Regions from separate parts of the Homo sapiens genome. Here regions 2 and 3 are each linked to region 1. The links are contacts of gene promoters, found by promoter capture Hi-C in blood cells and fetal thymus (Javierre and others, 2016). All regions are on one chromosome and are shown on one strand. The core of a region is centred on a gene start or on the middle of the fragment in contact, and the rest is flanking DNA. Distances in the headings are between cores, read along the strand shown. Region 1 holds the start of PPCDC (phosphopantothenoylcysteine decarboxylase). Region 2 holds the start of STOML1 (stomatin like 1). Region 3 has its middle 25 kb from the start of STOML1.

Evidence for each region. Contacts are between HindIII fragments. The CHiCAGO score rates a contact against its expected background, and 5 or more counts as called.
Region 2: a contact is called between the fragment with the promoter of STOML1 here and the fragment with the promoter of PPCDC in region 1, in 1 of 17 cell types (total CD4 T cells). The highest score is 6.1, in total CD4 T cells.
Region 3: a fragment that was not itself captured here is called in contact with the fragment with the promoter of PPCDC in region 1 in 1 of 17 cell types (total CD4 T cells); the score reaches 5.1 in total CD4 T cells.

Annotation. Positions count from the first base shown.
Region 1 is chr15:75,021,807-75,025,030 of GRCh38, forward strand. PPCDC (phosphopantothenoylcysteine decarboxylase) reads left to right here and starts at 1,784. Exons shown (of 6, transcript NM_021823.5): 1 at 1,784-1,820. The HindIII fragment of the contact is 7,713 bases long and covers 1-3,224 here.
Region 2 is chr15:73,990,388-73,994,100 of GRCh38, forward strand. STOML1 (stomatin like 1) reads right to left here and starts at 1,908. Exons shown (of 7, transcript NM_004809.5): 1 at 1,704-1,908; 2 at 1-70. The coding sequence starts at 1,836. RefSeq lists enhancers at 1,185-1,314, 1,375-1,444 and a silencer at 1,575-2,134. The HindIII fragment of the contact is 7,004 bases long and covers 1-2,988 here.
Region 3 is chr15:73,965,456-73,969,135 of GRCh38, forward strand. No RefSeq gene overlaps it. Among named protein-coding and RNA genes, the nearest start is that of STOML1, 25 kb to the right of the region's middle. RefSeq lists a silencer at 471-620. The HindIII fragment of the contact is 985 bases long and covers 831-1,815 here.

The DNA of each region.
Region 1 (3,224 bases), core at 534-3,033:
GAGACCATCCTGGCTAACACGGTGAAACCCCATCTCTACTAAAAATACAAAAAATTAGGCGGGCGAGGTGGCAGGCACCTGTAGTCCCAGCTACTCGGGAGGCTGAGGCGGGAGAATGGCGTGAACACAGGAGGCGGAGCTTGCAGTGAGCCGAGATCGCACCACTGCACTCCAGCCTGGGCGACACAGCAAGACTCCATCTCAAAAAAAAAAGACACGGCTGGATCCCTGCGTAAGGGATGGTTTGGCCCAGATGGTCCACTGCGGCTAAGGGCGGGGGTAGAGCAGAGGCCCCACCTCAGCTCAGGGCAGGGGACCCGCAGCTGGTTCAGCCACCTCAATGAATACAGAGGTTCCTGGGGCCTGTGAAGGCTAGAAAATGAAGGGGGCAGGGAAGCATGCCAGTGTGTGTTCTTCTGCCGCCTTCCCTTTGCCCATTTGATGCCTTCCACCTGGATCGCTATTGGGATCCTCTATCTAACCTCCTGGCTGTCCTTCAAGATTCATTTCAAGTCACTCCTTCAAGAAGGCTTTCCTGCCTAGAGGTGTTGCTTCCTCATGGAGGATCTTACCCTGTCATTTTCTGTGTCCCTGTTTGTCTCAAGAACAGGGACGCATCTGATTTATCTCTGTATCCTGTGCACCTAAAATAGAAGAGGCTTGGTAAATATTAAGTGCCACGAGCCCTCTTTTACTAAGGACCTGCCAACATGGGCCCCATTCACACTAATACCATGAAGATAGCCCTTTTCTATACTTCGTCATAAAAAAGTAATACACACACCCGGGCAGCAACTTCCACACAAACAACACATGTGCAAGGAGATCACCATTATTTCCAGCAAAATGCTCCCCAGGGCCGAGCGTGGTGGCTCACTCCTGTAGTCCCAGCACTTTGGGAGGCCAAGGTGGGCGGATTGTTTGAGCCTAGGAGTTTGAGACCAGCCTGGGCAATAGAGTGAGAACCCGTCTCTACAAAAAATACAAACATTAGTCTGGCATGATGGTGCACTCCTGTAGTCCTGGCTACTCCATAGGCTGAGATAGGAGGATGGCTTAAGCCCAAAAGGTGGAGGTTGCAGTGAGTGGAGATAGCACCACTGCGCACTCCAGTCTGGGTGACAGAGCCAGACCCTGTCTCAAAAAAAAAAAAAAAAACAAAAAAAAAAACAGCTCCCCAACAAGATAGCAGGCTACAACATGCATGTGATGAAGCTGATTTGAAGCGCTCAGTGAGAGGTATCTGCATCAAGTTGCAGGAGGAGAAGAGAGAAAGGAGAGATAATCATGTTCCTGAGGTCTCAGCCCTGGATCAGGAAATCATTGAAGTATTAACATATCCTGACATTAAGGAAATGCTGATGTTTTTGGACTTTGGCAGTCTGTCCAACCTGCAGGTCACTCAGCCAACAGTGGGGATGAATTTCAAAACGCCACGTGGAAGCTGTTTGAATCTTTTTGAGATACTGTAATATTTTCAATAAACCTGGGACAACAGCAAAAAAAAAAAAAAAAAAAAAAAGGCCCCAAGCAACAAGCAGTGTGTGTGGGGCTGATAGGAGTGAGGAAAGGAGGTCGGACAGTTATGCCAGCCCCTATCGAGAGTCCCAGCAATACAAAGAACAGGGCCAGGGTTTGCTCCAGGATTTCCCCAGTGGACTACAACTCCCGGAAGGCAGAGAAGTGGACTACAGCTCCCAGAAGGCTGCGCGACATACAGCCAGCCCGGTGCTCTCGTGAGGCGTGCCAGTCAGATTCCGCGGGAGAGCGGCAGAGATACCGCGATATTTGGGAGCGGCCCCGAGACGCGCCTGGCGCGGGTGAGCAGTGGAAGGGGGCTGGGAAGCTGGGTTCTCGCGGCGGCGCGGGAGGGGAGGTTCGGGGAGCTGTGTCCGCGAGCGTGGGTCCACGGCTGTCTGTGTGTGTCCTTATTTTCCCCTGTGTGCCCATGAAGCTCTGTTTGCGACTGTGCGTGGGTAGGCGGCCGTCCATCTGTGCGACCTCACTTTCCCGGCTGTACGGGTGGGGCCGCCTGGAGCAGGAGGGACCCCCGAGCCCTGAGTGGAGGGTTTGCATCTGTACCCGTCCAGCCCGACTTTGTGCTGCTCTGCGATTATTTGTCCAGTGTCGTTTAATCTAGTTTAAATGATGGCCGTGTCAGCTCCTCACACTGAACGCTTACCCGGGCTGCCCAAAGTACAAAGTGTATTTAAAAAGTTGGTAAAATTAAAAAAGGAAAGCCATGGGATGTTGGAAGTAGCCCTAGGCCTGCCAAAAAGTGCTGAGTGCTATTTAAAAATTAGGCCAAATCTTGTCAGAAAAGAACTTCCTGCTGTCCTTGAAGTATTTGGAAGCAGGTGCTAGATGGTGAGCAGGAGAGGTTGCCAAGTTGGGGAAGTGGTGGTTGTCCTGGAGCAGGGGTTTCCACATCTCTCACAGTGGCTGGGAAGTAGCAATTCGCAGTCACTGCCTTTCTAGTAGCCCACGTGTGTGAGTGTGTGTGTTAGATACATTTATCCCTCAGTATCCGCAGGGGATTGCTGTATACTTTTTTTTTTTGAGACAAGGTCTCATTCTGTGACCCAGGCTGGAGTGCAGTGGCAGGAACATGGCTCACTGCAGCCTCGACCTCCTGGGCTCAAGGGATCCTCCTGCCTCAGCCTCCTGTGTAGCTGGAACCACAGGCATAAACAACCATACCCGGCTAATTTTTATTTTATTTCATTTTTGTAGAGACAGGGTCTCACCATGTTGCCCAGGCTGGTCTCAAACTCCTGGCTCAAGCTATCCTCCTTCCTTGGCCTCTCAAAATGCTGGGATTACAGGTGTGAGCCACCACATCACCCTCCTGTATACTCTTTTTTCTTTTCTTTTTTTTTTTTTGAGTCAGGGTCTCACTCTTGTCTCCCAGGCTGGAGTGTAGTGGTGCAATCATAGCTCACTGCATCTTCGAACTCCCTGGGCTCAGATAATCCTCCCACCTCAGCCTCCCAGGTAGCTGGGACTGCAGGCACGTGCCACCACGCCCTCCATATAATTTAAATAATCTCTAGATTACTTATAAAACCTGATACAGTGTAAATGCTATGTAAATAGCTACACACTTTTTTTTTTTTGTGGTACTATTATTATATTTTGAAATGGTCTCTCTCTGTCACCCAGGCTGGAGTGCAGTGGCACAAACATGGCTCACTGCAGCCTTCTAGGCTCAAGCGATCCTCCTG
Region 2 (3,713 bases), core at 658-3,157, 1.0 Mb before region 1:
AACAGCAGCAAGAACCCCAGGAAACTGATGAGGCCATGACAGAGGCAGGAGGGCCAGCTCTGGGGTACATCTGCAGGTGAGAGCAGAGGTGGTCAACTGGACCTGCACGACAGCTGCCAAGCGGAGTGAACTTGGGCAAGTGTACCTTACGCCCACCTTCCCCTCGAGAGGCTCCTTCCTTCTCAGGGCTCTCAATCTGGCTCCTTGCCTAATATTCCCGTATCTTTGGGCAGCTGCAAGTTAGGGTCTGTTCCCTCCTCCCATACATCAACACTCATTTGTCCCAAGTCCAACAACCCTCACAAGGCCTTATTCTCTGCTAGGCAACAGCCATTCAATCTCAGAATCCAGTCCGCGTGATGATGCTCTCCTCACTGGACTGAGTAGGGGTCAATCCTCTCGTTTAATTTATATTGCCTACCCATACCTGGCATGGAGCCAGGAGCACCTGGGCATCTGTAAACATGCACTGAATACTGCTGGCAAAACACATTCCTCCTATACCATCAGCCCCAGAAGTGTGCTTTCCAGGAGTCCTTATGAAGATGATGCCTTAGCCTACAGGGATAAATCATAAATAGCTTATCAACGGGAGCCACAGATGAGGAATTAGATTATTATTTTCTATTCCACACCCAACTTTAATGCCTTAATGACCATTAAAAAATGCCTATTTCACGAGATGGCGCCACTGCACTCCAGCCTGGGGGACAGAGCGAGACTCCATCTCAAAAAAACAACAAACAACAAAAAACAAAAACAAAAAAAAACCCTGCCTATTTCAATTCAAGAAAATTGTTAGGGGTCGGGGTCAGGGGCAGGGCTAGAAAGATGAGGCTTATCCAAGCCAAATGTCCTGGCCCCTGGAGATTCAGGAGCCCAAGTTGGGAGCAAAGCCGAGACAGCTCCAGAATCTGGGATGAGGTTATTTGCCGCTTTCCTCCCAACCCTGGACAGGAAGCAGTCGGGAGCCCTGCTCCATTCTTCCAGGAAGCCCTGCCCTCTGGGCTAAGCCCCAGAGCACTGAGGCTCCACTTTGTGCCTGGCTCTGATCCACCAGGCCTCTCAAGAGACTTCTGGATAGGGAGAGCTTTCAGGACAGGAAGGCCAGGGAGGGATCAAATCCAAGGTTAGGCGGTTAGGCTGAACAGCGTGGGATCTGGCCTGTAGGCCAAAGGAGCCACAGAAGACTTTGAGGGCAAGACAGAAGCAGGGCAGATCCAACAGGCAGCTGAGGACCTGTCATTTTGGCCTGCACATCCAGGAGATGCCTAGTTCCCGGGCTTCTAGAGGTGCCCCCTAGGGCGAAAATTCTTCCATTTCCCTGCAGCAGGTGCCTTTAGGGTGCTGGTGGCCTCCTCTGCCTAGACCTCGGTTTCTTCTATGCGAAATAGAAACCTGAAACGTCTTCCCAGGCCTAAAGGGCTGATAAGAGCCGAGGACAAATGTGGTGAGGTGAGGTTTTGGAAGATAGGAGCAACGCTGGCTGGCTCTGGGGCCAAAGCCCCATGACCCTAGGGAGGGCGGATCGGCGCTAGCACCAGGCGCCGGGTCCAGCCCCCTCTCCACATCGTATCCCTTTCTCAGTCCCCCCTCGTAGGGTGCGACGGCACCGGGCCGGCCGACTCCTCGGAGGCAGAGATTCGGGCCTGGGGGTTGCCGGCCGGTCCCCCCCGGCTCCGCCGTGCCAGGCGGCCACTCACCGGCCCCTGTCCCCACGCCGCCCCGCTCCGGGGACAAGCAGCCCTTCTGCGAGCCCAGAAAGCCGAAGCTCGACTGCTGGAAGCGGTCAAAATCACCCAGGGGCAGCGCCCGGTACCCAGACCTGCCGAGCATGGCTTTTGACAGGAGACACGCCCCGCGCCTCCGCGCGGCGCCCTCCCTGGCCAGTGGGCCCTACGCGGCCCCGCCCTCCTGGCTGCTGCTTCCGGCTTCACCCGCGCGGCCACCCGCGGCGGCGCGGGCGCAGGAAGAGGAGGCCGGCCGGGGCCCGCTTCCGCCGTCGCATGGCTCCCCCTGCGCTGGGAGGACCGAACTGCAGCCCAGGGCTACTGGGTGTGATCGGCGTTCCTCGGACCCCGCTGGGGTCATCGCCTCCTCCCCTCTTCTCCTACTCAGCCCTAGAAAAGCTGGAGGGGAAGCTGGGCACGGTGGCTCACTCCTATAATCCATCAATTTGGGAGACTCAGGCAGGAGGATCGCTTGAGGCCAGGAATTCAGGACCATCCTGAGCAACATAGTGAGAGCCCATCTCTACAAAAAATTTTTAAAAATTAGCCTGGCGTGGGATGCCTGCCTGTGGTCCCAGCCACTTGGGAGGCTGAGGCGGGAGGATCTCTTGAGTCCAGGAGTTTGAGGCTGCAGTGAGCTATGATCGTGCCACTGCACTGCAGTCGGAGCGAGAGAGCAAGATCTCATCAGGGTTTACAGGAAGCCAATCTTCTCCAGGATCAAGGACATGCTATATCAGCCTTCTCAGCACTCCTTCTCTCACACTGGAGGCAGGACATGCCATATCTGGACTTTGGGTTTCTCTGGGACATAGTCTGCAAATTATTCCTCTTTGTGAACCCACAGCCCAGCAAGCAGGGACTGGCATAGGGCAGGTCTCAATACTTATTTGTTAAGTAATGGCCTGGCCAGGTCACCGTGATCAAGGTGGAGTAGGAAGGCCTGAACTTTGGCACAAAAAGAAAGAAGTTTCACATGCAGACTTCGGGGAGCATGGGAGTGTAAGGAAGAAGGGGATAGCACAGAGCTACATGAGGGCAGGGGCCCCAGAGCACCACAGAGGTGAGGCCCTCAGTCCTGCAGGTCCAGAAAGAGCATGCCCCTTGATCCAGGTACCTGGAATTAACTTGCCTCTCCAGGGCTTGAGAAAACCTGAATGCAACTCGTGAATTTCCTTTGAGAAGTGTTAACTTCCAACAGGACTTTGGGGTAGTCTGGGAGCAGGCTATCTTCCAAAGCAAGCAAAGAAATGAATAAAGCTTCCCCAGCTCTGCCTCCTCAGCCAATCGCCTCTGGCCTCCGAAGCCCCATCCTGCCATAGCCCACTTCCAGGTCCCTTGTGCAGATGGCTGCCCACCATATTTGGCTTTCATGGACTGATTCTCTAAAGGCCTGGGAGTACTGACCAGGCTGGAGGGAAGGGCAGGCTCCTGAGGCCTTACAGTCCCTAGGAAGTTGCGTATCTGCCCAACCCCTGCTCTCCACCCTGCAGACTGTAAGGTTTACAAGAGCCAGGCCCTATCATCATCCTTTCTAGTCTGTTTCTAAGTTGGAACAGAGTACGGAATGGGTACACAGGAGCCAGCACAGTGGTTGCGATGGTTTAAGTTTGAAGCCGGGGCGCTGACCCAGTGAGGTCACCTGGAACTGTGCCCCTTTCCCCTTACCAGCTGGGAGTCTGACATGCTTTTCCATTGGCGAAGACCTAGCTGGCTCTCCCCTCACCCTCTTCATACCCGCTCTCCAGCTCTCCCCCTCCCTCCTGCCCCCACCACCTCAGATCCACCAGCCTTTCCAGCTGTCACTCAAGGCATCATCCTGCTCCCTCACCTCCAGTCACTGGCTTCCCAGGATCTCTGAATCAAGTCCCTCCTCTGCATCCCACAGCCACTGTCCTAGACCAGGGCACCTGCTCCTAGGTTGTCAGAGTGACTGTCCCATCATGCACAGCTGATCGTGTTGTTCCCTGGTTCCAAATCCTT
Region 3 (3,680 bases), core at 73-2,572, 1.1 Mb before region 1:
TGCTCTGCCCAAGACAGTTGGTCTTGCCTTTCCTTGGAGGGGCTTGTCACTCTTTGGAATTCAGTTCTCTTGGTTGCCTGCCACCTCAGCTATCTGACTGGTTTAAGAAATTATGGTTTTGCAAATTATCTGGTGTTTTGTTATTGTTAGAGTCGGGGGGCGGGGTGGTTCATTCCTGTACTCCCAGCACTTTCGGGGGTGAGGTGGGTGGACCCTTTGAGCCCTGGAGTTCAAGACCAGCCAGCCTGAGCAACATGGGGAAACCCTGTCTCTACAAAAAAAAAAAAAAAAAAAAAAAAAAAATTAGCCAGACATGGCGACAGGAGCCTGTAGTCCCAGCTACTCAGGAGGCTGAGGTGGGATGATCACTGGAGCCCCCCCAGAAAAGAATGGGAATGATGTTCCCTTGTGGTTTTTCTATATCCTAAGAGGAAATAAAACACTCTTCTCTTTCACTTTTAACATATGCAAATGAGTGACTCTAAATGCCTTCTAGGGCAATGTCTCATGGCTTACAGTGCCTCGTGGTTTTTCTCATTTCTTTCATGATTGCAGCTGTATTTGCTACCACTTGTGCAGCTGACATTTACCAAGCCCTTACTGTGTTCCAGCATGCTTTCATTTAGAACCATCCCTGACTCCTCTTTTCTCTCAAACCCACGTTCAATTTGTCAGATAATCCTGTTGGCCCCATGTTCAAAATATAACCAGTTCCTTTCAAAAATAAAAATGGACTTATCATAAAACCCGGCAATTGCACTGTCATGCATTTTTCCCAGAGAAATGAAAACTTATTTTCATGGTGGAACTTGTACACAAATGTTCATAGAAGCTTTATTTATAATAGCCCTAAACCAGAAAATACTCACAAACTATGGTATATTCATACCACAGGATACTATTCTGCTGTAGAAGGAATGAACTATTGGTACAAGCAACAACTTGGATGAACTTTTGCTGAGTGAAAAAGCCAGCCTCAAAAGGATACATCACTGCATGATTCTATTTACACGGCAAATAATATAATTAGAGAGGGAATAGACTAGTGGTTGTCAGGAGTTAGGAATGTGTATTAGTCCGTTCTCCTCTTTCTATAAAGAAATACCTGAGACTGGGTAATTTATAAAGACAAAAGGTTTAATTGGCTCATGGTTCTGCAGTCTGTACAGGAAGCGTGGTGGCTTCAGCTTCTGGGGAGGCCTCAGGGAACTTACAACCATGGGGAGGGCAAAGGAGGAGGCAGGCACCACTTACATGGCCAGAGCAGGAGGAAAAGAGATGGGAGGTGCTACACACTTTTGAACAACTAGATCTCATGGTGCTAATCCATTCATGAGAACTCCACCCGGTTTGGTGGGGACCCAGATCAGTACCATATCAGAAGGGAGGGGAGGGTGTGGCTGTAAAGGGGTTACACGAGAGGCTTTGTGGTGATGGTACAGTTGAGCACCTCGGTCATTCTGGTGGCTACTCCAGGCTACACATAGGGCAAATTTACATAGAGCTACTTTGTGGTTGGCTGGGTGCGACGGCTCACATCTGTAATTCCAGCACTTTGGGAGGCTGAGGTGGGGGGATGACGAGGTCAGGAGGTCGAGACCAACCTGGCCAACACGGTGAAACCCCGTCTCTACTAAAAATACAAAAATTAGCCGGGTGTGGCAGTGTGTGCCTGTAATCCCAGCTACTCAGGAGGCTGAGGCAGAAGAATTGCTTTAACCCGGGAGGAGGAGGTTGCAGTGAGCCAAGATTGTGCCACTGCACTTCAGCCTGAAAACAGAGTGAGACTCTGTCTCAAAAAAAAAAAAAAAAAAAAGCTTTTTTGTGGTCTTTGTGCTGATACCAAATAAGTGGTATCATTTCCAACACCAATCGATTTTCTGCTTCTGTGATACCAATTGGGTGTTCAATAATTCAATTCTATTCTGATACTAACCTGGAGTTAGTGTCAGACTCCACAGGCTGAAGGGCTCAGTCCCATAAGACTACCCCCATTTCTCCCAGGCGCAGTGGCTCACACCTGTAATCCCAGCACTTTGGGAGGCTGAGGCGGGCGGATCACCTGAGGTCAGGAGTTCGAGACCAGCCTGGCCAACATGGTGAAACCCTGTCTCTACTAAAAATACAAAAATTAGCCAGGCCTGGTGGCGGGCACCTGTAATCCCAGCTACTCGGGAGGCTGAGGCAGAAGAATTGCTTGAACCCAGGAGGTGGAGGTTGCAGTGAGCTGAGGTCACGCCATTGCACTCCAGCCTGGGCAACAAGAGTGAAACTCCATCTCAAAAAAAAAAAAAATGGCTGGGTGTGGTGGCTCATGCCTGTAATCCCAGAACTTTGGGAAGCCGAGGCAGGCGGATCACCTGAGGTCAGGAGTTCGAGTCCAGCCTGGCCAACATGGTGAAACCTCATCTCTACTAAAAGTACAAAAATTAGCCAGGAGTGGTGGCGAGTGCCTGTAATCCCAGCTACTTGGGGGGCTGAGACAGGATAATTGCTTGAACCCAGAGGCGGAGGTTGTGTGAGCCGAGATCGTGCCACTGCACTCCAGCCTGGGTGACAGAGTGAGACTCGATGTCTCCAAAAAAACAAAACAAAACAAAACAAAACTACCCCCATTTCACATGCCAGTCACAAGTACTGGGTCCCCAGGTTACCCACACTTCTGTCCAGCCAACTACAAATTTGGAGGTTCCCGTGACCTCCATTCCTCAGGTTTGATAATTTGCTAGAATGGCTCACAGAACTCAAAAAAACACATTACTTCACCATTACTGGTCTATTGTAAAAGATACAACTCAGGAACAGCCAAGTGAAGAGATGCATAGGACTGGGTATTGTAGGGTGGGTGTGCAGAGCCTCCCTGCCTGCTCTGGGCGTCACCCCTCCAGCATCTCCATGTGTTCCAACCCAGAAGCTCTCCAAACTCCATTGTTTTGGAACTTTATGAAGGTTCCATTACAGAGGCATGATTGATGAAATCATTGGTCATTGGTGACTGAACTCCATCCCTAGCCACTGTCCACTCCCTGGAGGTCAGAGAGTGAGGCTGAAAGTTCCAACTCTCTCATCATCAATCATGGCTTAGTCTTTCTGATCAGCAGCCTGTATCCAGAAACTATTTAGGGTCCTCATTAACATAAGCTCAGGTATGGTTGAAAGGGGTTTGTTATGAATAACAAAACATCACTGTAACTCAGGAAATTTTAGGAGGGTTTTAAAAGATCTGTGCCAAGAACCAGGGACAAAGGCCAACTCTATTTTTCTCACTATATACATGATTTCCCATTTCCTACAGGCACACACAAACACACACACAAATGGGTGCGTGCATAACTGGTTAGATCTGAATAAACTCAATGGATTGTGCCGATGTTCCATTTCTTCGTTTTGATACTGTACTCTGGTTATGTGAGTTGTTCGCATGAGAGGTAGGGAACATGGGACTTCTCTCTACATTCCTTTGTGACCTTCTGTGACCCTACAATTATTTCAAAATTAACAACTTAGAATACAAATAACCAGAGTCCACCTCCCGCCCTGCTACCAGCCTGGTCCACACCACTCTCTTTTCTTGCCTGGATTATTGCAACAGCCGCTTTTTTTTTTTTTTTTTTTTTTTTTTTTTTTTTTTTTTTGAGATGGAGTCTTGGAACAGTTTCTTAATGGGTCTGCTTTTACAT